Linked DNA regions of Homo sapiens: region 1 is linked to region 2. Evidence: promoter capture Hi-C in 16 types of primary human blood cells and fetal thymus (Javierre and others, 2016). All regions are on one chromosome and are shown on one strand. The core of a region is centred on a gene start or on the middle of the fragment in contact, and the rest is flanking DNA. Distances in the headings are between cores, read along the strand shown.

Region 1 (6,231 bases), core at 441-2,940, 620 kb before region 2:
TGCCTCAGCCTCCCGAGTAGCTGAGATTACATAATTTTTGTATTTTTAATAGAGATGGGGTTTCGCCGTGTTGGTCAGGCTGGTCTCGAACCCTTGACCTCAGGTCATCCACCTGCCTCAGCCTCCCAAAGTTCTGGGATTATAGGTGTGAGCCACTGCGCCCGGCCTAGCATGCCTTTTTCGATGTCTTTTCCATCTTTCCTGTGTTCTTTTCATTAGGTGTTAGGATTGCTGATATGTTTGGCCTTCTTTCTGGCTGTGGCAGAAAAGTCACAATGGTCTTTCCCAAGTATATGCCATTTGGCTACCAAAAATGCATCCTCCCTTTCCTAGCATGGAAAGTGACAGCCCAGTCAAGGGCTATTTTCTCAACCCTCTTCATGCCCAGTTATGGTCATGTGATTAGTTCTCAGCAATGAAATGTGGGCAGCAGTGATGGGAATCACTAAGGACTTAATGTTTTTCTCTGCTTTTATTGAATGCGCACTTAATTGGTGATGATTTGCAGAGAAGTGGAGAAAGCAGGGAACTAAGGAGTTTCTATTTGTTTACTGATTCTAAGCCCTGAAAATGCCAGGTGATCGGGGGTGATCAGACGTGTCTGAATCACGTTGGTGGTGCCAGTGACTTGCTTGATGTTTGCCTTCCCCATCACTTCAGCTCCCTGAGGCCTGGGACTGTGCCTACCAAGTGCTACATGGTCTCCCTAAAGCTTGGGTTATAGTACACTCTTTATTAACATTTATTGTGTGAATAAATGAAATGCTTTACATTTACTGGTGACCTCATCAACTAATTCTTTTTTTTTTTTTTTTTTTGAGACGGAGTCTCGCTCTGTCACCTAGGCTGGAGTATAGTGGCGCACGTCGGCTCACTGCAAGCTCCGCCTCCCAGGTTCACGCCATTCTCCTGCCTCAGCCTCCGAAGTAGCTGGGACTACAGGCGCCCGCCACCACGCCCAGCTAATTTTTTGTATTTTTAGTAGAGACGGGGTTTCACCATGTTAGCCAGGATGGTCTCGATCTCCTGACCTCATGATCTGCCTGCCTCGGCCTCACAAAGTGCTGGGATTACAGGCGTGAACCACCGCGCCTGGCCTTCATCAACTAATTCTTTTGGTAAATGAATTTCTGCTTAAACCAGGCCAAGACCTTTCTTTATAAGAAGCCAGGCCAGTGAATCAGGGAGTGAGATCAGAGGAAAGGAAGTCTCCCTTTTGTGTCTTTAAGTCATGTATTGTGCCGTGACTAGCTGGAAAAGCTGCAAAATAGTATAATAGAAGCTGTATATATCAGCAATAGCAAGGATTACTTGTCTGAGAACCTGGTTTGTGCCAGGCACTGACCTTGATGCTTTTCATACATTGCTTCATTGAATACTCATAAAAGCTACCACACAGGTGTGATTCTCCCTATTTTACAGATGCATCAGCTGAGGCTCTGTGCGGTAAATAAGTTGTTCAATGACAGAGACCAAGTAAGTGGCCAAGTCAGGACTCATATCCGTCTTCCTGACTTCGAGCTTGAATTCCCTTCTACCATACCTTATAAAAAGAATTCAGCAGCCTGAGGTTCAAGGTTCAGCTGCATGATATTGAGAATTCATTTAGTTTCTCTGAGCCGCCATCTCCTTATTTGTGGAATGGAGATAATGATGACACTGATTGATGCTCAGCTCCTCACAGAGTTATTGTAAAGACAAGTGAGAGAATGACTATGTGTTTTGCAAGTGATTAAATTCACAAACACAAGTCACTTTACTTACAGTATACTGGAGACACTTACATTAGGCTTTTAAACATTTATATATATATGTATATATATTTTTTGATACAGGGTCTCACTTTGTCACCCAGGCTGGACTGCAGTGGTGCAATCTTGGCTCACTGCAGCCTAGACCTCCAGGACTCAAGAGGTCAGATCCTCCCAACTCAGCCTCCTGAGTAGCTGGGACTACAGGTGTGTGCCACCATGCCTGGCTAATTTTTTTTGTATTTTTTTGTAGAGATGGGGTCTCGCCATGTTACTCAGGCTAGTCTTGAACTCCTAAGCTCAAGTGATCCATCCACCACGGCCTCGCAAAGTGCTAGGATTATACGTGTGAGCCACCGCTCCTGGCCAGACTTTTTTTTTTTATTTAAAAAACTTTATTTTTAAACTTTAATTTTTGAGACAGGGTCTCACTCTGTCACCCATGCTGGGTTGCAGTGGTGTGATCATGGCTTACTGCAACCTTGACTTTTTGGGCTCAAGGGGTCCTCCTGCCTTAGCCTCCCAAGTAGCTTGGGCTACAGGCATGTGCCACCACGCCTAGCTAATTAAAAAAAATTTTTTTTGTAGAGACGGTGTCTTGCCATGTTGCCTAGGCTGGTCTCGAACTTCTGGGCTCAAGCTCCCACCTTGGACTCCCAGTGTTGGAATTACAGGTGTGAGTCAATGCGTTGGGCCGCATTAAACTTTAAAGTTTCTGAATTTGAGGACACGACTTTATGACAGGCAACCTCTCAGTTTTTCAGAATAGAAATAATCCTTTCAGTCACATGAGAGAACAGTGTCTTCTATTTTAAGTAGTCAACTTTCTCTTTAGTGTTGTTTGTATGTGGGCAAACCCTACCCAAGTTTCTGTTCCTGAAATCAATTTCTTAATTTGCATTAGGCAAAAGTGTTGCATAAGCTTATTTTATTATCATCCAGCTTTTTATAGATCTTTGCTGAGAGACAATACGGGCTTGTTGAAAGAGGCCCTGTTTGACTGTCCCAAGCCCTGGGATGGAGTCCTAGCCCTGGCACTTAGCAGCTGTGGGATCGTGGGTGAACTACTTCACCTCCCTGCTTCTCAGGCCTCTACATCTGCAAAGTGAGAACAAGGGGAGCTCTTTCCCTAAGGGCCCTTTCACTGTACTACTTAAAAATGATTGCAAAGAGTCTTGCGTTAAGCAAAACTGAACACCTGCTGTAAATGTCTGCACCTCAGCAACATGACCCACAGTAGAATCTATATTTAGTTGCATTTGGATAATCTTCCTTTCCCCTTTTGCTTTAGCACTTTCTACCTTCAATTATTTCTTTATTACAGCAATGCCCCCTTTTTGCTCTACTGATGTGGGTGAGATGCAAATGGGCCTTTTGAGACTCTTGCTGTGTCCCCTGGGCCCCAGATGGACAGATGGGAGACAGAACGATTGTGGAGTACATCTTGGAGCTGACAGGTTTTGGGGGCAGGAAGTGTTAGTCAACACATGAGAAAAATGGGGTAAACAGCTGGAAAAGGCTGAGCATTAGCTGACAGGCTCTTTAGCCAACTGTCCTAGGACTGGATCAGGGCCTTGTGCATGGTGGGAGAGGCACCTAGGACCTGTGGAAAGGACAGGAAGCCAGACCCAAGAAGCCTCAGGCTGCAACCTGGCCCTCAGTTATTATCACAAAACTTACAAAGGTGTGAGCCTCGTGAATCAGCTGCAATAGATTGTTGCCTTGAGGACAAGACAGTCTAAACAACTAAAAATTAGCCAGGTGTGGTGGCTCATGCTTGTTATCTCAGGGCTTCAGGAGGCTAAGGCAGGAGGATTGCTTGAGGCCAGAAGTTCAAGACGAGCCTGAGCAACACAGTGAGAGCCCCCCCCCAACCCCCCACCCCTCAACTTCTACAAAAAAATTTAAAAATTAGCTGGGCATGGTGGTGCACACTTGTAGTCCTAGCTACTTGGGAGGCTGAGGTGGGAGAATTGCTTGAGCCCAGGAGTTTGAGGTTGCAGTGAGTTATGATTGTGTCACTGGACTCCAGCCTGGGCAACAGAGCAAGACTCTGACTCAAAAAAAAAAAAAAACAAACCCAAAAAGCAAAAAGCAAAACCAAAAACCACACATACACAATGAAAATTATTACAAAATAGCCTGAACTTGGTAGATCCATTTCTTACACCAGGCATGGTGGCTCACATCTTTAATCCCAACATTTTGGGAGGCTGAAGTAGGCAGATTGCTTGAGCCCAGGAGTTCAAGACCAGCTTGGGCAATATAGGACACCCCATCTCTATGAATTAGCCAGGAGTGATGTCATGGGTCTGTAGTCCCAGCTACTTGGGAGGCTGGGGTGGGAGGATGGCTTCATCCTGGAAGGTAGTGGCTACAGTGAGCTGAGATTGCGCCACTACACTCCAGCCTGGGTGACAGAGAGAGACACTGTATCAATCAATTAATCAATAAATAAAATGAAAGAAAAGAAAAGAAAGCATTTCTTGAATACCAAGAAACCCAAGATATGACAGCTGATGCACATGAGGCCGTGTCCCTTCATGCAGTGAGGTGGCAAGGCCTGAACAGGCGGATGTGGCCTCTCAGGAAACTTGTCCATGATTTCTGCCTTCCTCCCCTGGGGCAGTCCTGCTTGGTTGTGTAGGAGGCAAAGGAAACTGATGGCTTGGGAAAAGTCCTGTTGATACGAAACTAACCTGTTTAAAATTTAGTGAGATTCAAGTTGTCTCTGAAAAGTAACATTTAGGCTAGTCCTGTTGGATTGTGCTTCCACCCTACTATATGCGTAACCTGTTCCTACTATAAGCAGCACTCAGCATTTACATCTGGTTTTACAGGGACCAAGGACCCATTACCATTAATGATCTGCCAAGCCACACAACAGTTCTGTGGAGGCAGATAATGATGTCCAATTTACAGACAAAGAGGGTTAGATTTGAAGATGCACAGTACTTTTCCTGGGGCCAGATCCTTTTACCAGACACAGGGAAATACATTAGAATTTTCAAGTATGTAACTCTTTGCTTTTTTGCAAGCCATGCATCCTGTTGGGTGCATTCCAAAGATTGTGGATTCTATTGGTGGATACCAACTCATACACAAAAGAGAAACTGTAGGAATTCTGCCCAAAAAGGAGGCCGTGTCTTGCTAGGCCCTCGGGTCTCTGTAGGGATGCACCTGTTGATGTCCTCTGGCCTCTTGTCCATCTTACCTGGTAAGGGGCTTCTCCCCTCTAACCCCCCCTCCCCTCACCTAATGGATCTTCCCTAAACCTAGCTTTTATCTGGTCAGTCCTTTGGAAGTTTCCAGAGTAAGAAATATGAATAAAGGGAACATGTGTACACAACTAGGGGGACAGTGAGTCCATTAGATCATTTCAGAAAACAATTTCAGAGAACCTAGGAAAGCTGGAGGCGCCCTGCCATCCAGAAGCCCTTGCACGTTCTCAACAGACAACACACATAAGAACATCCTGGCAGCATTTTTATTAGAGCAGAAATATGGAAATCAATCCAAAGTTTCGTTAATCAGATGAAAAAGTATGAGATATGTTCTCTAGTGGTGCTAGAGAACAATGGAGATGATATGTTCTCTAGTGGTGCTAGAGAACAATGGAGATGAATGAACCAGAGCCAACACCTCACTGTGGGTGAATCTCTAGAACACAAAGTTGAATGAAGAAGGAAAGTCATGGAAAAATATGCACAGTAAGATCCTATTTATATAAGGTTTGGAAATAGGTGAACTAAACAGTGTCTGTGGGGAACAGACAAATGCAGTTAAACTATCAAAATAAACAAGAGAATGATGAGTGTCTAAATCAGACTGAGTGGTTTCCTTTGAGGGGATGGGAGGGACAGAGACCAGGGAGGGGACTGCAAGGGTTTACTTCTTTGGTGATGTTCAGTTGCCTAAGCTGGGTAATAGGTCCCTAAGGATTCATTTTATTATTATCCTGCAAATCTTGCATCTGACTACACACAAACACCTGCATACATAAGTATTCTTTACTTTGCATGACATATTTTGTAATGAAAAAATACACAAATAAACCACCTCTAGGAAAACTTGCCTTTTCCCATAGCACCTCTGTCTAACTGGAAGACCCTTCCCAGTCTGGCAGCTCTGGCCTTGTAACATCAGCCAATGCTAGTATTACATTGTGCCAGGAACTGTCTTACGTGCTCTATGTCGTATTGCCATATTCAGTCCTAACAACTCTACAAGACAGGCATTATTATTATCCACATTTTATACATGAGGAAGCTGAGGCCCAGAGAGGTGAAGTCACCAATCCGAGTTAACGTGGTTAGTTCATGGCAGAGAGAGTATTGGAACCTATATGGCCTGATGGAAGAGTAGGAATATTGCTGATTTTTTTCCCTCTAGCTTTCCCTTCCTCTCTGGCTTTGCCTTTCCTCTTACTATTTCATGCACATTCCCACCTTTCCCACCCATACTCGCACGTGCCTGGTTC
Region 2 (6,761 bases), core at 3,797-6,296:
GAACAGGGCTTGGTACTGCAGGTGAGCTCCACTAGCTGAGCAGAGAGGACCAACACATGCTTCCTCTTGGACAGCAATTCTGCGTGTCTCAGATTCAAGTCCTGACGCTGCTAAGCCACATCTGCCGGGGACGCATGAGCACGCCATTACACCAAAAACATACCAGAAAAGAACAAAATTGGAGCCAGACTCCTGGGCACAAATCCCCGCTCAGTCACTTACTAGCTGCATGGTACTCAGTAAGGCACTGAACTCTGAGCTCTGGGTACCTCACCTGTATAACGGAACAAGAACAGAACCTACCTGACAGGGTTTGTATGAAGCGTAAAAAGGCTAATTTACACATAAAGCATCCAGCATCACACTTAGGTCAAGGTAAACCCTCAAAACATAAGCAGCCCCCCGGGTGTCCTCAGCAGCAGCAGTGAAAATCCAGTCACATTCGGCCTCTGCCAGCCTCACAGGTGTTTTCAGATCCCCTTTTATGCTGCAACATTTTCCGCAGCAACCACCGCCATTCCTTTAACAGTCACTGAGCAAGTGCATCTGCTATGCCAGGCGCTGCTCTGAGCTTCGGGGCCAGACTCCATTGCTGCCGTCTGCAGCGTGGTCTGGTGGTGATTATGAGCAGGCCATGGGTGTTCTGACCAAGGTGACTGTGAGTTACAGGAGCTCAGTCGGCACAGGCACCCTGGAGTTATGCATACCTACTCTGTCCCTCAAGAAAACACAGAATGCAAGTGATAGCAAGGGCTGTTAATACAGAAAGAGCAGTGCAACTACTCACTCTTTTTTAAGGAATTATTCGTCAAACTCTAGCATGTAACTCTGAGCATTCCAGAGTATTACAGGGTGGAAACTGCTGGCCTGTTATGTTTGCCGTCTTTACAGGTTCATCTTTCCATACACCATTTACTGGGCACCTACCAGGTGCACCTACAGGGGGTGCCCGAGACGTGCTGATGAGCAAATTAGAAATGGCCTCTACCCACATGGTCCTTACAATCTAATGATAGAGACCAATGTGAGTATTTATTAAGCACCTACCGCAATCACTTACATAGACACGTATAGCACCTGTAGTAAGTGCTATGAAGCAAACATCAAGAGTATAATGAGGACTGTACCTAGGGAACATGATCTAGATTAGAGGGTTGGGAAGGTTTCCTTTGAAGAAGTAATGCTGAACCTATTATTAATAATAGTAAACGTAAGTATTGAGGGGGCAGAGGGTGAGACCACATTCCAGGCCCCAAGGCTGGAGGGTACACTGGAGCCAGGTGAGTGGGGAGGGGTGACTGAGTGAGTGGGGGAGGGCAGCCTGAGATGAAGTCAAAGAAGCAGGCAGGGCTAGATGAAGCAATGGAAATGACTTTGGATTTTATCCTAAGGGCAGTGGGATACCACTGAAGGGTGTCATGAGAGGAGTGACATAATCAGATTTGGAGCTCTGAAGGATCATTTGACTGCTGCACACAGCACGGGCTGCAGGGAAGCAACAGCAAGAGAGACCAACTCTGGGCAACTCCAGCCACGGTCCCAGCAGGGACTGATGATGCCTGGACTAGAATGATGATGAAGGAAAGAGGGGGAGCAGACAGATTCCAGAAATTCTCAGGAGGAGAATCAACCACCAAGGCCAGGGGACAGACTGATGCAGACGGAGGGTTCTGGCAGGAACATCCAGCTAATCAGAATTACCACTTATGCAGTGGGGAAACCAGAAGCAATGTGGGGAGAAGGAGATCAAGAGTTTAACCATTAGTGTACTCTCTTACAGTATGGCCTTTTCTCTATCACCAGTGGAGTCGTGGGCAAACACTTTCAAAGGAACTGGCTTAGAGCCAAACCCTTCTTGATGGGGGATCTTCCCACAGGCTGACACTGATCCACTCTGGAATATCCTCAGTCCTTACCAATCTAACCTGGCAGCTCTTGTTCCTCCACTACACGAAGGGAGCATCATCAGAACCCTTCCCTCACATGCCTGGTGAAAACAAAGTCTCCTAACAGCCATCAACTTCACTTCCCTGATCTTCCAGCAATCCTATCATAGGTTATGAGAGCGTATAAAGAGGAAGAGAGGAGGAGAGAATCCAAGATACAGACCAGATTCAAACACAAGTTCAACACAGCCTCAAACAAGGGATCCACACTTTCACCCATTGACTCAGCTTTGCCCCATCTTTCAACTACTCACCTACACCCATGCCCTGTCAACCTGGGTCTCCTTCTGACATGTGTTCAAATGATGTAGCACCTGAATGTCATGAGGCTCTCTGTGCAAGACCATGAAATATAGATACTACATCTTTTTAACAATTAAACGTGCTCTTTCTTCTGCCAGTAAGGTTCCTGTCCCTGTCCCATCCTACAATCCTTTTGAAAAGCCACTTCCTCTGATGGCCAGTGATGATGAGCATTTTTTCATGTGTCTTTTGGCTGCATAAATGTCTTCTTTTGAGAAGTGTCTGTTCATATCCTTTGCCCACTTTTTGATGGGGTTTTTTTTTTTCTTGTAAATTTGTTTGAGTTCATTGTAGATTCTGGATATTAGCCCTTTGTCAGATGAGTAGATTGCAAAAATTTTCTCCCATTCTGTAGGTCGCCTGTTCACTCTGATGGTAGTTTCTTTTGCTGTGCACAAGCTCTTTAGTTTAATTAGATCCATCAGAGAAATGCAAATCAAAACCACAATGAGATACCATCTCACACCAATTAGAATGGCGATCATTAAAAAGTCAGGAAACAACAGGTGCTGGAGAGGATGTGGAGAAATGGGAACACTTTTACACTGTTGGTGGGACTGTAAACTAGTTCAACCATTGTGGAAGTCAGTGTGGCGATTCCTCAGGGATCTAGAACTAGAAATACCATTTGACCCAGTCATCCCATTACTGGGTATATACCCAAAGGATTATAAATCATACTGCTATCAAGACACATGCACACGTACGTTTACTGTGGCACTATTCACAATAGCAAAGACTTGGAACCAACCCAAATGTCCAACAATGATAGACTGGATTAAGACAATGTGGCACATATACACCATGGAATACTATGCAGCCATAAAAAACGATGAGTTCATGTCCTTTGTAGGGACATGGATGAAGCTGGAAACCATCATTCTCAGCAAACTATCGCAAGGACAAAAAACCAAACACCGCATGTTCTCACTCATAGGTGGGAACTGAACAATGAGAACACATGGACACAGGAAGGGGAACATCACACACCGGGGCCTGTTGTCGGGTCGGGGGGAGGGGGGAGGGACAGCATTAGGAGATATACCTAAGGTTAAATGACGAGTTAATGGGTGCAGGACACCAACATGGCACATGTATACATATGTAACAAAGGGGCACGTTGTGCACATGTACCCTAAAACTTAAAGTATGATTAAAAAAAAAAGAAAAGAAAAGCCACTTCCTCAGGGGAGCCTTCTTTGAGCTCCCAGATTAGATCCAAGGTCTGTTAAACACCCTCAGGCACCATGTACCTCTCCTTTGGAAAACTCGTGCTTGAAACTGTATGTATGTGATTTTACTGACCAATATCTGCCTGCCCCACTCGACTGTTTGTAAACCCCACAATGGCAGAGGCTTTTTGACATTTTTATTCATCACTTTATCTCTACCGTAGCAAATAATAGCCTCTAGTAATACTTAATGAATTCGGAAATAAATAACTCTATGCTAACTAAGTATCATCTTCCTAGCTGTGACTAGCAAGTACAGGTATAGGTATCAAAGTTTAAAAACAGGCCAGGTGTGGTGGCTCATACCTATACTCCCAGCCCTTTGAGAAGACAAGGTGGGAAGATTGCTTGAGACTGGGAGTTCGAGGGCAGCCTGGACAACATAGTGAGATTCCATCTCTACAAAAAGTAAAAAAAAAAAAAAAAACATAGCTGGGCATGGTGTTGTGCACCTACAATCTCAGCTACTTGGGAGGCTGAGGTGGGAGGACAGCTTAAGCCCAGAAGTTCAAGGCTGCAGTGAGCTATGATAGTGCCACTGCACTTCAGCCTGGGCAACAGAGCAAGACCCTGTCGTTTAAAAAAAAAAATGAGGACAAAAATTGGAAGTTGAAGATATTTTGGCCATTAATTTAATCGTTTATTTAACCTGGGAGAAAAACTGCCACTGTTTTATTTTAGAGCAATGCTTCCACATGGCAACACGTTCAATTGCGTTTTTCCCAAACCATGTTACTTTCCAAACGATTACAAGTAGTCGCGAAGGGTGGTCACACTTTACAAAAAGTGTAATTAAATTATAGAGTCGGCTACATCTCAGTCACTGGCCCATTCCTGGTCAACTGACAAGTAGCTGTGGTGGCTTCTAGTAGCTTGTTACAAGTCATCAAGTCAGTATGAGTGTTGGGGGATGGAAGCTATTGAAAACGGTGCTGACGGCCCAAGGAGTAGCAAACTGTCTCATGAACCGTCCTGAGCCGACTCAGTAAGGACTCAATAGAGAAGGACACTTCATTTACTTCCCTGACAACTGCAATAAAGAGGTTTTAGAGCTCGCTGAGGGATGCTGCCTGGGCAAGGGAAATAAATGTGTTGTAACATGAAACGGTCCCAATCAAGCAAGTCGGGGCCCTCTCGCTGTCGCCGACAGTCCAGAGCAAGGAAGTACACAGCAGTCCTGAACCTCAGTTTTCTGCAAACCAGAGGCTTGCCACTGAGCCTATGTGACCCGAAAGCTGCAGAAAGGAGAGGCTGTGCCCGGCACACGGAGGCCGCCTCGCCAGCCTGTGCTCCCGACCCTGCGCCTGCCGCCCCGGACTCACCTGGCCCGGGGCCCTGCGGGTCCTTCAGCTGAGCCTTGAACCGCACGCCCGTGAGCTCTTCTTTGCGGGCGCGCTTGGCTGCACCCGCGGAGGAAGCCGCGCCGTCCTGGCCGCCCGAGGCCTTCCTCTTGGGGACCCCCATGGCCGAGAGGGCGGAAGCGCGACGGAAACGACACACCTGAGGGGACCCGGCAGGAGCACTGGCACAGACAGCAGACACGCGCTTCAGGCCCACATGGCGCAGGAAGAGGCGGGGCTGGCGGAAGAGGCGGGGCTGGCGGAAGAGGCGGGGCTCGGGGAAAGGCCGGCGGAAGGGGCCGACCCGCGCGAGGCTGGGACCGGCGGAAGGGGCGTGGCCTGCAGAAGGGGCGGGGCGATAGGGATCCAGAGTCTTGGGGATCCAGAGTCTTGGGGCTCCATGTGAGTTTGCTGTACCGGTTGTCCCGGTCACGGCATGGGGCGAGCGGACACTCCACGACACCCCCCGCCCCCGGCTGCAGGGTTTGGGGTCCACCGGGGCGCATTTCTGATCCCAGTGGCTCTTCGGGTGCTCTTGGCCGGAAGAACTCCCAGACCTTTCACTCCTGGCCTGGCCGATCCACGAAGACTCGGGCCCCGGCGCGTCCAAGCAGCACAATGAGTAGTTCTTGACCCGAGGTCGCCCTGAAGGTGTCGCATGAAGAGCTTGCTTCACACACAACAGGATTCGATACTTTGCCAATTCAAGGCCCTGGTGGCTGGCCGGGAAGGTGGATTCGCCTTGGCTAGGTGCCAGGCAGGTCCGCCTGTGCGGGTGCCCCTGACTTCGACCCCTAGCTTATGTCACAGCCCGAACCAGATCGACTGGTCTGGTAGCAGCCTGTCACTCCAGACTGTCCTCCACCCCAGACTTCCGCAAACTGATGGGCTCTTTGCGCCGTGCAGGGTGGGAGGAGAAGACCAAACGAAGTAACGTCTGTAAAACCCCTTCCTGGACAGCGTAAGGCCTCCACATCTAAGTTCCTGTCATTAAAATGGAGACAGCAAAGCCGACCCTATCCAGTCCTTGGGACTGTTATGAACAGAAAATGATGCAATGTATGAAAAACTGCTTTGAGGAGAAAAACAACACAGTGTGTTTTTGGAAGATGTGATTGATTTGTAAACCGCATTAAATGCTCTGAAATAAAATGAAAGTAAAAATAAGTAAAAACAGGCTGGTACATATTTTAATACGACTTCATCGATACTTAGGTATGTGTCCAAATAAATCATGAACCAGCGCATTAGATAAGTAACTTGGTGATTACTGAAATTCTCCATCAGGTTGTCCTCTAGTCTAAGAAAATTGTGTTTCATATTCTGTAAGCAGATGTGTTTTGAACATCTGAGGATGTGGGCTTTTGTGGCCTGTTGGGGTCTCAGAGTTTCTAGTAGAAAAAGCACGTGTGTTGACGCTGAGCCTCTGTCCCGACAAGATGATTGTGCCTGTGGAGATGTCTATGTTGTAGGCAGGTCAGAGAGAGGGTGTCACCCCTAGCAGATATGAGCTAATGCAGCAATGTTAAGAGAGGGGAATATGCTCAAAAAGTCATCTGTAAAAGGCAACACTCATTAGTGAATACAGACTTAATTCTGACTGATTATCCACACTGGTCCTCTTCTTTGGTTAATCGCTAACCACCAACTTTGTTTTCTGCCATGGTGGTCCCAACCAAAAAGTTATCAGAAAGAGTTAGGAAACAGTCAAAAGCCCTGAGTTCAGTTTCTGCCTGTGTGACCTTGGGCAAATTACCATCCCTCTGTGCTGGTTTGCTTTACAAACAATTAAAGAGCATGAGGAACTTCCCAGGATTATCCAGCTAGTAACTGGTGGAGCCAGGACTCACCCAGTGTATCCTAGTCCCAAATTAAAAACAAAGAAACAGAAGTTGGCAGTGCCCATTTACAGCCTTAGCCAGAGATGTATGGATGGCAAG

Evidence for each region. Contacts are between HindIII fragments. The CHiCAGO score rates a contact against its expected background, and 5 or more counts as called.
Region 1: a fragment that was not itself captured here is called in contact with the fragment with the promoter of URB1 in region 2 in 1 of 17 cell types (total B cells); the score reaches 6.1 in total B cells.

The regions. Positions count from the first base shown.
Region 1 is chr21:31,770,214-31,776,444 of GRCh38, forward strand. No RefSeq gene overlaps it. Among named protein-coding and RNA genes, the nearest start is that of SCAF4, 41 kb to the left of the region's middle. RefSeq lists an enhancer at 2,611-2,900. The HindIII fragment of the contact is 1,961 bases long and covers 711-2,671 here.
Region 2 is chr21:32,387,966-32,394,726 of GRCh38, forward strand. It overlaps URB1 (URB1 ribosome biogenesis factor), which reads right to left and starts at 5,047. Exons shown (of 39, transcript NM_014825.3): 1 at 4,804-5,047. The coding sequence starts at 4,945. URB1-AS1 (URB1 antisense RNA 1 (head to head)) reads left to right here and starts at 5,168. Exons shown (of 1, transcript NR_026845.1): 1 at 5,168-5,995. RefSeq lists enhancers at 4,313-5,095, 4,955-5,249, 5,096-5,877, 5,400-5,649. The HindIII fragment of the contact is 11,778 bases long and covers 1-6,761 here.